Regions from separate parts of the Homo sapiens genome. Here regions 2 and 3 are each linked to region 1. The links are contacts of gene promoters, found by promoter capture Hi-C in human tissues and cell types (Jung and others, 2019). All regions are on one chromosome and are shown on one strand. Each heading gives the region's core, a stretch centred on a gene start or on the middle of the fragment in contact. The rest is flanking DNA. Distances are from core to core; before and after follow the strand shown.

Evidence for each region. The method cuts DNA at HindIII sites, captures the fragments that hold promoters and counts their contacts. A contact is called where the count stands out against the background at its distance.
Region 2: a contact is called between a fragment that was not itself captured here and the fragment with the promoter of CHTF8 in region 1, in 2 of the 25 tissues and cell types used here (lymphoblastoid cells and mesenchymal stem cells).
Region 3: the fragment with the promoter of SMPD3 here is called in contact with the fragment with the promoter of CHTF8 in region 1 in 2 of the 25 tissues and cell types used here (heart right ventricle and stomach).

The regions. Positions count from the first base shown.
Region 1 is chr16:69,131,223-69,133,922 of GRCh38, forward strand. It overlaps CHTF8 (chromosome transmission fidelity factor 8), which reads right to left and starts at 1,366. Exons shown (of 4, transcript NM_001039690.5): 1 at 1,262-1,366. DERPC (DERPC proline and glycine rich nuclear protein) reads right to left here and starts at 1,366. Exons shown (of 3, transcript NM_001002847.4): 1 at 1,262-1,366. It overlaps UTP4 (UTP4 small subunit processome component), which reads left to right and starts at 1,427. Exons shown (of 17, transcript NM_032830.3): 1 at 1,427-1,467; 2 at 2,236-2,396. The coding sequence starts at 2,238. RefSeq lists silencers at 946-1,095, 1,116-1,475. The HindIII fragment of the contact is 4,885 bases long and covers 1-2,700 here.
Region 2 is chr16:68,566,317-68,569,016 of GRCh38, forward strand. ZFP90 (ZFP90 zinc finger protein) reads left to right here. Exons shown (of 5, transcript NM_001305203.2): 5 at 1-815. Among named protein-coding and RNA genes, the nearest start is that of ZFP90, 28 kb to the left of the region's middle. The HindIII fragment of the contact is 4,837 bases long and covers 1-2,700 here.
Region 3 is chr16:68,447,056-68,449,830 of GRCh38, forward strand. SMPD3 (sphingomyelin phosphodiesterase 3) reads right to left here and starts at 1,453. Exons shown (of 9, transcript NM_018667.4): 1 at 1,298-1,453. LOC124903705 (a long non-coding RNA gene) reads left to right here and starts at 1,785. Exons shown (of 2, transcript XR_007065097.1): 1 at 1,785-2,011; 2 at 2,110-2,775. RefSeq lists a silencer at 1,151-1,670 and an enhancer at 1,771-1,820. The HindIII fragment of the contact is 13,014 bases long and covers 1-2,775 here.

The sequences.
Region 1 (2,700 bases), core at 116-2,615:
TGTGTGGATGCTATGCATACACGTGATACTTCCCATCACATTTTAGGATTCCCACGTTGGAGGGAATCAATTACTGGTATTTGTAGCAATGGGTGGAAAAGATGGCTTCAGTCGATCTGAGTTACTGCAGTTTTCTCCATCTTCTGCTACTCTGCAGCCCCATCTTAGCCTGTCCTCCTCTTAATGGTACGGCCCCCTGTACTCCCCCAAACCCTTTCCTTTCTAGCCCGGCGTAGAGTCTCCCTCTGTGCTCTTCCTCCCACCCACCCCCATCTTCTCCACCCACTCCCTCTCGGCCCCCTCCCACCCTTTCTGCTAGAGCTACAAACACTTCCTATTTCTAGTCCCACCCACTTTCTGGGACTTCTCAATCCGCTTCCCCCCTCTTCTCCACCCCCCTCCAAATTACAAGCTGTTTTAACCCCTTTTCCTGCCTCCCAGGGAAACTATTCTTTAAACCGCCTTCCTCCACACCACCCACTGGAGTGGTCTTCCAAACCGTTCACCCTCTTCCCAAAGATTACTCTTTAAACGTCCTTTCTCTACCACCCTCGTTCTCCAAATTGTTCCCGGTTCTCAAGTACTCCACTCCTCCAGGACCCCACCCCACTCGTCTCTCGGCTTCCCTCCCACAAAAGAACCTGGAATGACTCTCCAACCACCCTTCCAATTACCTCTCCCAGAAGCCTCCCCCCTCCACGATTACAAATGTTACCTGGAACAAAACCTCACGGTCCTAACCCCCACCCCGAACTCCCCTTTCTGCTCTTCCCGCTACTTCCTAGGTTCCAGTTCTACTCCGCTCCCGCAAGCATAGCGGGCTGGGCTCCCTCCCAACCCCGGGAAGAGCCCCTTCCCGCACGTACCTCGAGATTCCGGCCCTCGCCGCCCCCTTCTCCGTCCTCCGCCCGCGCTCGGCCACCCTTTCCGCCCTTCTCCCGCTCCGCCCCGCTCGCTCCCTTCCTTCCCTCCGCCTTCCGTCTCCACACCGCTCCCTTCCCCCACACTCCTGGCCCTCCCACCCCGGAGGCCCCTCCGGGCTTGCCCCCACCTCCGCGCCGCCCTCCCGCCGCCCTCCCCCTTCCCGGCCACCCCTCCCCCGCCCGCGCTCCCCGCCCCTCGGCTCGCCATTCTTCTCTCCGAGCCGCGCGCCCCGCCCGGCCCCGGCTCCCTAGCTTCCCGCTCCCTCGCGCCCTCGCCCCCAATCCCGGCTCGGCCCTCGCTCCCCGCAGCCTCCCGTGCCCCCCGCCCGCGGCCTGACCTGCAATGGCGGCCGCCGAGCGCGGCGCCGCGCGGCCAACGGGCGACAACCGAACCTCCCGCCGCCGTCGCCGCCGCCGCGAGCACTGCCTGCGCACTTCCGACTATGCGCCAGGAGCACTTCCGGGGCAGAGCCTGAGAGCGCGCGCGCACGTGGGGCCGGGGCGGAGAGAGGCGAGCACCGGGAAGGGGAGCGTGGGGCCGCTGGTGAGTTGGGGAAGGGGCGTGGGAAGCGGCTGCGAGAGCTGGGGGGGTCTTACAAGGTGGCCGGCCCAGGGTCGGCGTCCGGCTGAGCTCCTTGTCCCGAGGGTCTCCTTGTCCCGAGGCGGGGTGGGGGCTACTCTGTAGACTCGGGGAGAGGGAAGGGGAGGCGAAGACCGCGCGCGCCTCAGACGCCCCGGCCCGACCGAACGCGCTTGCTCTGTCTGCGGGTTCCTAACCTTGAAGCTAGGCCAGTGAGGGGCGAACAAGACCTGGTCTCTACTCTCGGCCAGTATATATGTTGGCGGGCGTCGGGGGGACGGGGTAGGGTAAGTGACAGACGTCAGACCAGGCAGCCAGATTAAGTCAAACCCTGTCGTTTCTTCCTCAAGAGGAGCTCGGTTCTGCCTGCCCCATCAGCCTCACTGTCACTACCTCAGTTTAGGTCTGTTGTTTGCAAACTTAGCAATAGAGTTGAGGAGAGATGCTTGCTAAAATGCGGATTCCTAGGCGCCCCGAGATAGGAACTCTGGAGCTATGGAGTAGGACCCTTTTTGATTTTTTGCTGAAGCCTCCTTATTATTCAAGCCATTCTGAGCTTTTGAAGATTGAGTAATTCTTGTGGGGGGCATTGTTAGCAGCCATTTGGAAATGAACTTCAGGGAGATGTTGTTGGAGCCTTCCAGCCAGAACAGTGATATTAAGGAACTGAATACTATATGTGACATACTGCAGTTAACATATAGCAATAATGACTCTCTTTTCGCCCCCTAGGAATGGGTGAATTTAAGGTCCATCGAGTACGTTTCTTTAATTATGTTCCATCAGGAATCCGCTGTGTGGCTTACAATAACCAGTCAAACAGATTGGCTGTTTCACGAACAGATGGCACTGTGGAAATTTATAACTTGTCAGCAAACTACTTTCAGGAGAAAGTAAGTCATTTGGGAGTCTGATATGGTGTTTTGATGTTAATTTCTTCTGAAGTTCAAGAAGCTTGTATGTCTTTTATAATCAAACTGATTGAGTGACTTCCTAGCCCCTCTGAAGTTGCTTAGAACTACCAAACTTCTGAGATCTCCTAACTGATAAGAGAAGCTCAGTTTCAATCTGTGTAATGTTGATTAGAAGGGTCCTACCTAGAAATGTGACATCTCACTGCCTGTCATTGGAAACTGAGGTTTGCTGGATCTTTTGGACACAGGAAGGGAAATTGTTGGTATATCAGTCTCAACACCA
Region 2 (2,700 bases), core at 95-2,594, 560 kb before region 1:
ACAAGAGCTGCCTCCCAAAGATAGATAAATTTTCCCAGCCCTAAATATGAATCATGGGGCAAGATATTGGTCGTATTGATGGTGAACCTTTCCTACTGGATTCTTTGCATGCCACATAGCAGGATTCATTGCCTTTCTCTCATCATGGATGGCATGCAGCAGCACCCAAGTATTCTTCATTCTTTGCAGGGAAAAAATTGTGCATGGGGGCTGAAATGTAATATGTGTAGCTCAATTAGTCTCTCCTCTGTGATGCAAAATGGAATATTCAATGGCAGATCTGCCCTTCTGAGATGCTGACCATCCAAAACACCTTGTTTATGGTGCACCATGATTAGCTCACACACAATGCCAAGGCTGTGCTTCTATTATCTGATACATAGTTTGACAATGGGTAATTCTACTCAGACCCTCCCTACTGATTGGCTAGGATGCCTGTCAGGAACTCATTATGCTACTGGTTGTTTGGGGATCCCCATAGTGGACTACTTTCAGGAATGGCATGAATTGTAACCAACTGAGTGCTGCCCCCACTGTTACGGAAGTTTATAAAACCTTAGTTCCAGAAGACCCAAAGGAGAGTACTGGTTTGTGTTTGGTGCTTGGCCTAGATCCAGCCACCACTCTGAAACTCAGCACATCTTCATTGACAGGGAGGGAGCCCAGGACATATGTGTGGCTCATTGACCAGAAGGCTTTCTTAGTCCCAACAGCCATGAACCATGCACTTATGGATACCCAGCCTTTTAGGGCTACGTGAAATGCATCCTTGTAACATCATTGTATTCTTTCAATAAATAGCCTTCTGAGTTGAATGGGAGTCAGTTTGTCGTTTTCAATTTTCAGAACTTGGCTAAGATTAAAGAGTGGTGCACCAAGAGGGAGGAATTAACTGCTAAACTCATCACAGCCAGGTGAGTTAATAGCTACCATTTATTGAATGCTTACTACTTTAAAGACATTGTGCTAGGTGTTTCACATCTGTCATTCAATCCTTATAACTTCTGGTTAGCGGTGTGGTGGTAGTTCTTGTCTTTGCCCAGCATTTTCCCCCTTTTCCTCTTGCAACAATCTGATTGTATTGACTGTAGGAACCTAAATCAGGATGTCCCTGGGGCTCACTGATAGTTTTAGGGGCAGGCATGAGACCTAGTTCAGCTAATCAGAGTCCTTTGCCAGAATTTTTTCCAAGTAGAGCTGGAAGGAGCCCTACTTTGGGCTTTTGTGTTGCTAGGCCAAAAGATAAAGGCCTAGAGCTTCCTGGAACCTGATTTCTTACCAGAGATGGGAAGTAGGAGAGGACAAGGTTGACATGATGGTGTTCTTGTTTCTATTTCCTGATGTCCTTAGACCTGGCTCAATTTCTGAAGCTCTCCTTGGGATTCAGGAAGCTCCCCATCAGTCCAACAGTTTCTCCTTTTTGCTCAAGCTAATTTTTTATGTTTGTTGCTTGCATTAAAGAAACCTAAAATATGTATGATATACTTTTACCTGCCAGAGCATCTAGCGCACCTCCATGGAAGATGAGAAAAGACTTCTGCACTTTTAGGCATATTGATGGTGGTGATGCTTGGTTTTTTTAATAGCTGCAGTAGGCTTTTCACTTTGCAGTATTCTGACTTCAAGATTGAGCACTTTTTAAAAATACTAAGGTGGTTAATTCCTACTCATCTGTTAAAATGCAAATGGTGCTTCAGGAAAGGTTTTGCTGACTCTCCTATTTCAATTACATTGGTCTCCCTTTTAAAAATTTTCATGGATTACTGTTAATGTCCTCCATGTTACCACAGTTTGTATTTGTGATTATTTGGTTTTCTTTTTCCTACACTAGATGGTGAGTTCCAGGAAGGCAAGAGTCCATGTCTGTTTTGATAGCTCTTTTTATTACCCTGCTAATTAATGCCAGGCATATGGTAGATACTTAATATAGTGATATAGTGTTTTAAGTGAGCAATTGAGTGGAGATTGATTGCTAGACAAAGAAGACTGGTAGGTAAATGAAAAGATGCTCAATCTTGAAGTCAGAATATTGCAAAATAAAACAATGTAATACTGTTTCCTACCAATTAGGCTGGCAAAAATTGAGAAATCTGGCAGAGGGGAATTAGAACTTTTATACACTGCTGGCAAGAGGGTAACTTGGTATAATTATTTTGGGGAGTAATTTGGCAATATCCAGTAAAATCAAAGCTAAGCATATCTCATGTCTCAGCAATACCACTAGGAGATACATATCCTAGACTAGAAATTCTCCCTTGTGAGGAAAAGAGACACACACAAAGATGTTTATTGAGGCAGTGTTTTAAAGAGTAAAAATATGAACACAACAGAAATACTGGGAAGTGAATAGGTTAACAATAAGTCATGGCATATTCTTTTTGAGACAGGGTCTTGCCTTGTCACCCAGGCTGGAGTGCAGCAGTACGATCTCAGCTCACTGCAGCCTCCACCTCCCAGGTTCAAGTGATTCTCATGTTTCAGCATCCCAAGTAGCTGGGACCACAGGTGTGCACCACCACACCCGACTAATTTTTGTATTTTTAGTAGAGATGAGTTTTCGCTATGTTGGCCAGGCTGGTTTCGAACTCCTGGCCTCAAGTGATCCATTTCCTTGGCCTCCCAAAGTGCTGGGATTACAGGTGTGAGCCACTGTGCCCAGTCAATCATGGCATATTCTTATAATTTAACATACAGTTTTTA
Region 3 (2,775 bases), core at 203-2,702, 680 kb before region 1:
GGAAGCTGCCCGCGCCGCGCCCGAAGCCCCCCCTCCGCGGCCGCGCCCCCCGCCCAGCCCGCGGCGCAGGCCTGCCAGTGCGGCGACCGCCGCTTTGTCCTCTCGAGGATGCCTGGGCCGAGCGCGAAAGCCCCATGCCTTGGAACAGCCACCGCGCGTCCTGGAAGCAGGTCCCCGAGCCTCGGTTTGGGGTGCGCCCTGCATCGGAGCGGAGCAGCCCCCAAAGATTCGCGGGCACGAGGTTGGGGGTAGCGTCTACCTGGAGCTCTTGAGTGCTTGAGGGGAGACCCGCCCCGTCCCGCTCTGTACATGCCCATCTGGGATTGGCCCCCAGCTGCGGTGCCAGAGGCTCGGTCCCCGGGGCGTGGTGGGCTAGGGCGGGTCGTCTCGACTTAGAGCCCCAGGCCTGGATCCAGGTAGGGAGGGCCTGGGAGATAAGGCCCAGGTGGGGAGAGGTGGGGAGGGGTCCCTCCTGTCCTCGTACATCCCCCTACACTACCTCTCACACCCAGGCCACCCAACCCTCGGCGCGGGCCCGAGCGCGGGGGATTCCGAGTGTCAGTGCTTTCCTCCACCCGCGACTCCGAGAAGGATGGGGAGGGGTCTCCCAGCGTTTCCCTGCCACATTCCAATTCCACCCTTCACCAGTAACCTAGGAGGGTCCAAGTGGGAGGGGTAAGAGTCCTCTGTCTCTTCCACATCCTCGATCCTCCTCTTTACAAAACCCTAGGGCCAAGGGAGGAGGGGGGAATAGGGAGGGGGGCGAGTGTGGAGGAAGGGGCCTGGGCAAGGGTCTTCCCTGCATCCCAAGCAGCCCTTCCTGAATACCCCTGGGAGGGTCTGGGCTAGGGGAGCGGTCCGCGATCTCATCCATCACCACCAGACTCCTTTGTAACCTCGAGCAGCCGAAGTGTTGCGGGGAGGGGTCCCCCTGCCTCGAGTCCCTTCATCCCACAACACCTCATCCTCCCGTCCTGAGTAATCCGAGCAGCCCCGTCGCCAGGCACAGCGGGAGGGAGGGTCCAAGCCTCCTCGCTCTCCCAGGAGAGATGGGGGGTGGGGGTGACCCCCAGCCCTCGCCCCTCATACCCAAGAGCCTTCTCCATGATAAAACGAAAACTAACCCAAGCTGCTCCGACCTCCGGCGCCCGGCCACGGGAGGCCCCTAGTCAGTCGGCGGCTGTCCGGGACCCGCGGTCCTGAGAGCAACGAGAACACGTCCCGTCAACTCCCCAGCCCCTCACGCCTCGGTTCGCCCGCTCCCCAAGAAAACAAAAGCGAATTCAGCAGCACTGACCTCTGACGGCGGGCGGGAGGGCGGTCAGCGCCCGGCAGCGCACCCCGCTCCTCCCGGCTCCTCACAGCCCGGGCTCCCGGCCGCAGATCTGGCGGCGGCCGCAGCGGCGGCGGCTCTCGCGGCTCTCGGGTCCGGAGCCTCCCTCAGACTCAGCACCTGGAGCGGCGAACAGCTCCGCGCTTCATTCCTCTGACCCCGCCTCCCTCGCGCCGCCGGAGCCAATGGTGACCCGGACCCCGCCCAGGAGTCTGCCCATTGGGGGCGTCCTCCCCTCTCCCTCCGGCCCCGCCCGCAGGTTCCTGGGTCTCTCCTTCAAGACCACATCCCCCAGAGACCGGCGGAGTTTCGCACAGCCTTCTGGGACTTATAGTTCTTTAAGGACGCGGAGTGGGCTCACGCCGCGGGTAGGCAAACAGAGCGGGACTGCATTTCCCAGAGTGCACTGAAGACACGGAGGCGCGGAGCAGGGCGGGAGGACCGTTTCCATAGCAAAGACGACCAGCCGAGGATGGCTGGCGGAGGCGTGGGGCAGGCCGCAGGACCCTCGAAGGATCGTGTGAGACCCCGGGCAGCCTCTTGGGAGGCCATTTCGAGGAGAAAACCTTGATTTCTGCCTCAGGACCCTGGGCCTCAGTTTTCCTATCTGAGAAGAAGGGCGAAGAGCTGTGCCCCCGACCACACCCGTCGGTGATGGGGCAAACCGAGGGCAAGCAGGTTTGGTTCCTGCCCAGCAAAGGTGAGGGAGGACGGAGGAGACTCTCCCACCGCATTCAGAACTTTATTCCTTTATTTTTGTCTCAATCTTGTCATAGAGGAGCGCTTCACTTTTGGTCATCCCTTGGGCCACCAGGGCCTTCCCGTCTCCGTCTTCCCATCGCAGGTCCTGGCCTCCTTCACACCACTCCAGGATACCGCAGCATCTCCCCCAGCGCAGCAGACGGAGGGCGCTTCACATGCCCCCGGACCTAAGCCCACTCTCCCCTTCAAGATCTGGACTCCACTTTTTTGCAACACTCTTAACTTCTTTGGAAGCTGGGAAGCCTCCTACTCCCTTGGGCCTCTCCACCCTGCCCTCAGCTAACTCGTCGGCAAGCCCCAGCCTAGACATTGCCTGTTTTGTGAAGACATCTAGATGCTGGGCTGTCTGTTGAGTGCCCCACCCTGTGTTTGAGCAGCACCCTCTACTTCCCCTGTTCTACTTGCATGTTTATGTGCTCGTCTTCCTCATTATAAGATCCACAGGGGAGGGGCCATGTCTATATTATTCATACTTACAGTCCAGTGTCTAGTATCTGGCACGTAGTAGGCACTCACTAGCTATTGAGATATAAATATAGATATTTGTTGAATTGAAAATGAATTGGGCCGGGCGTGGTGGCTCACGCCTGTAATCCCAGAACTTTGGGAGGCCGAGGCAGGTGGATCACTAGGTCAGGAGTTCGAGACAAGTCTGACCAAAATGGTGAAACCCAGTCTCT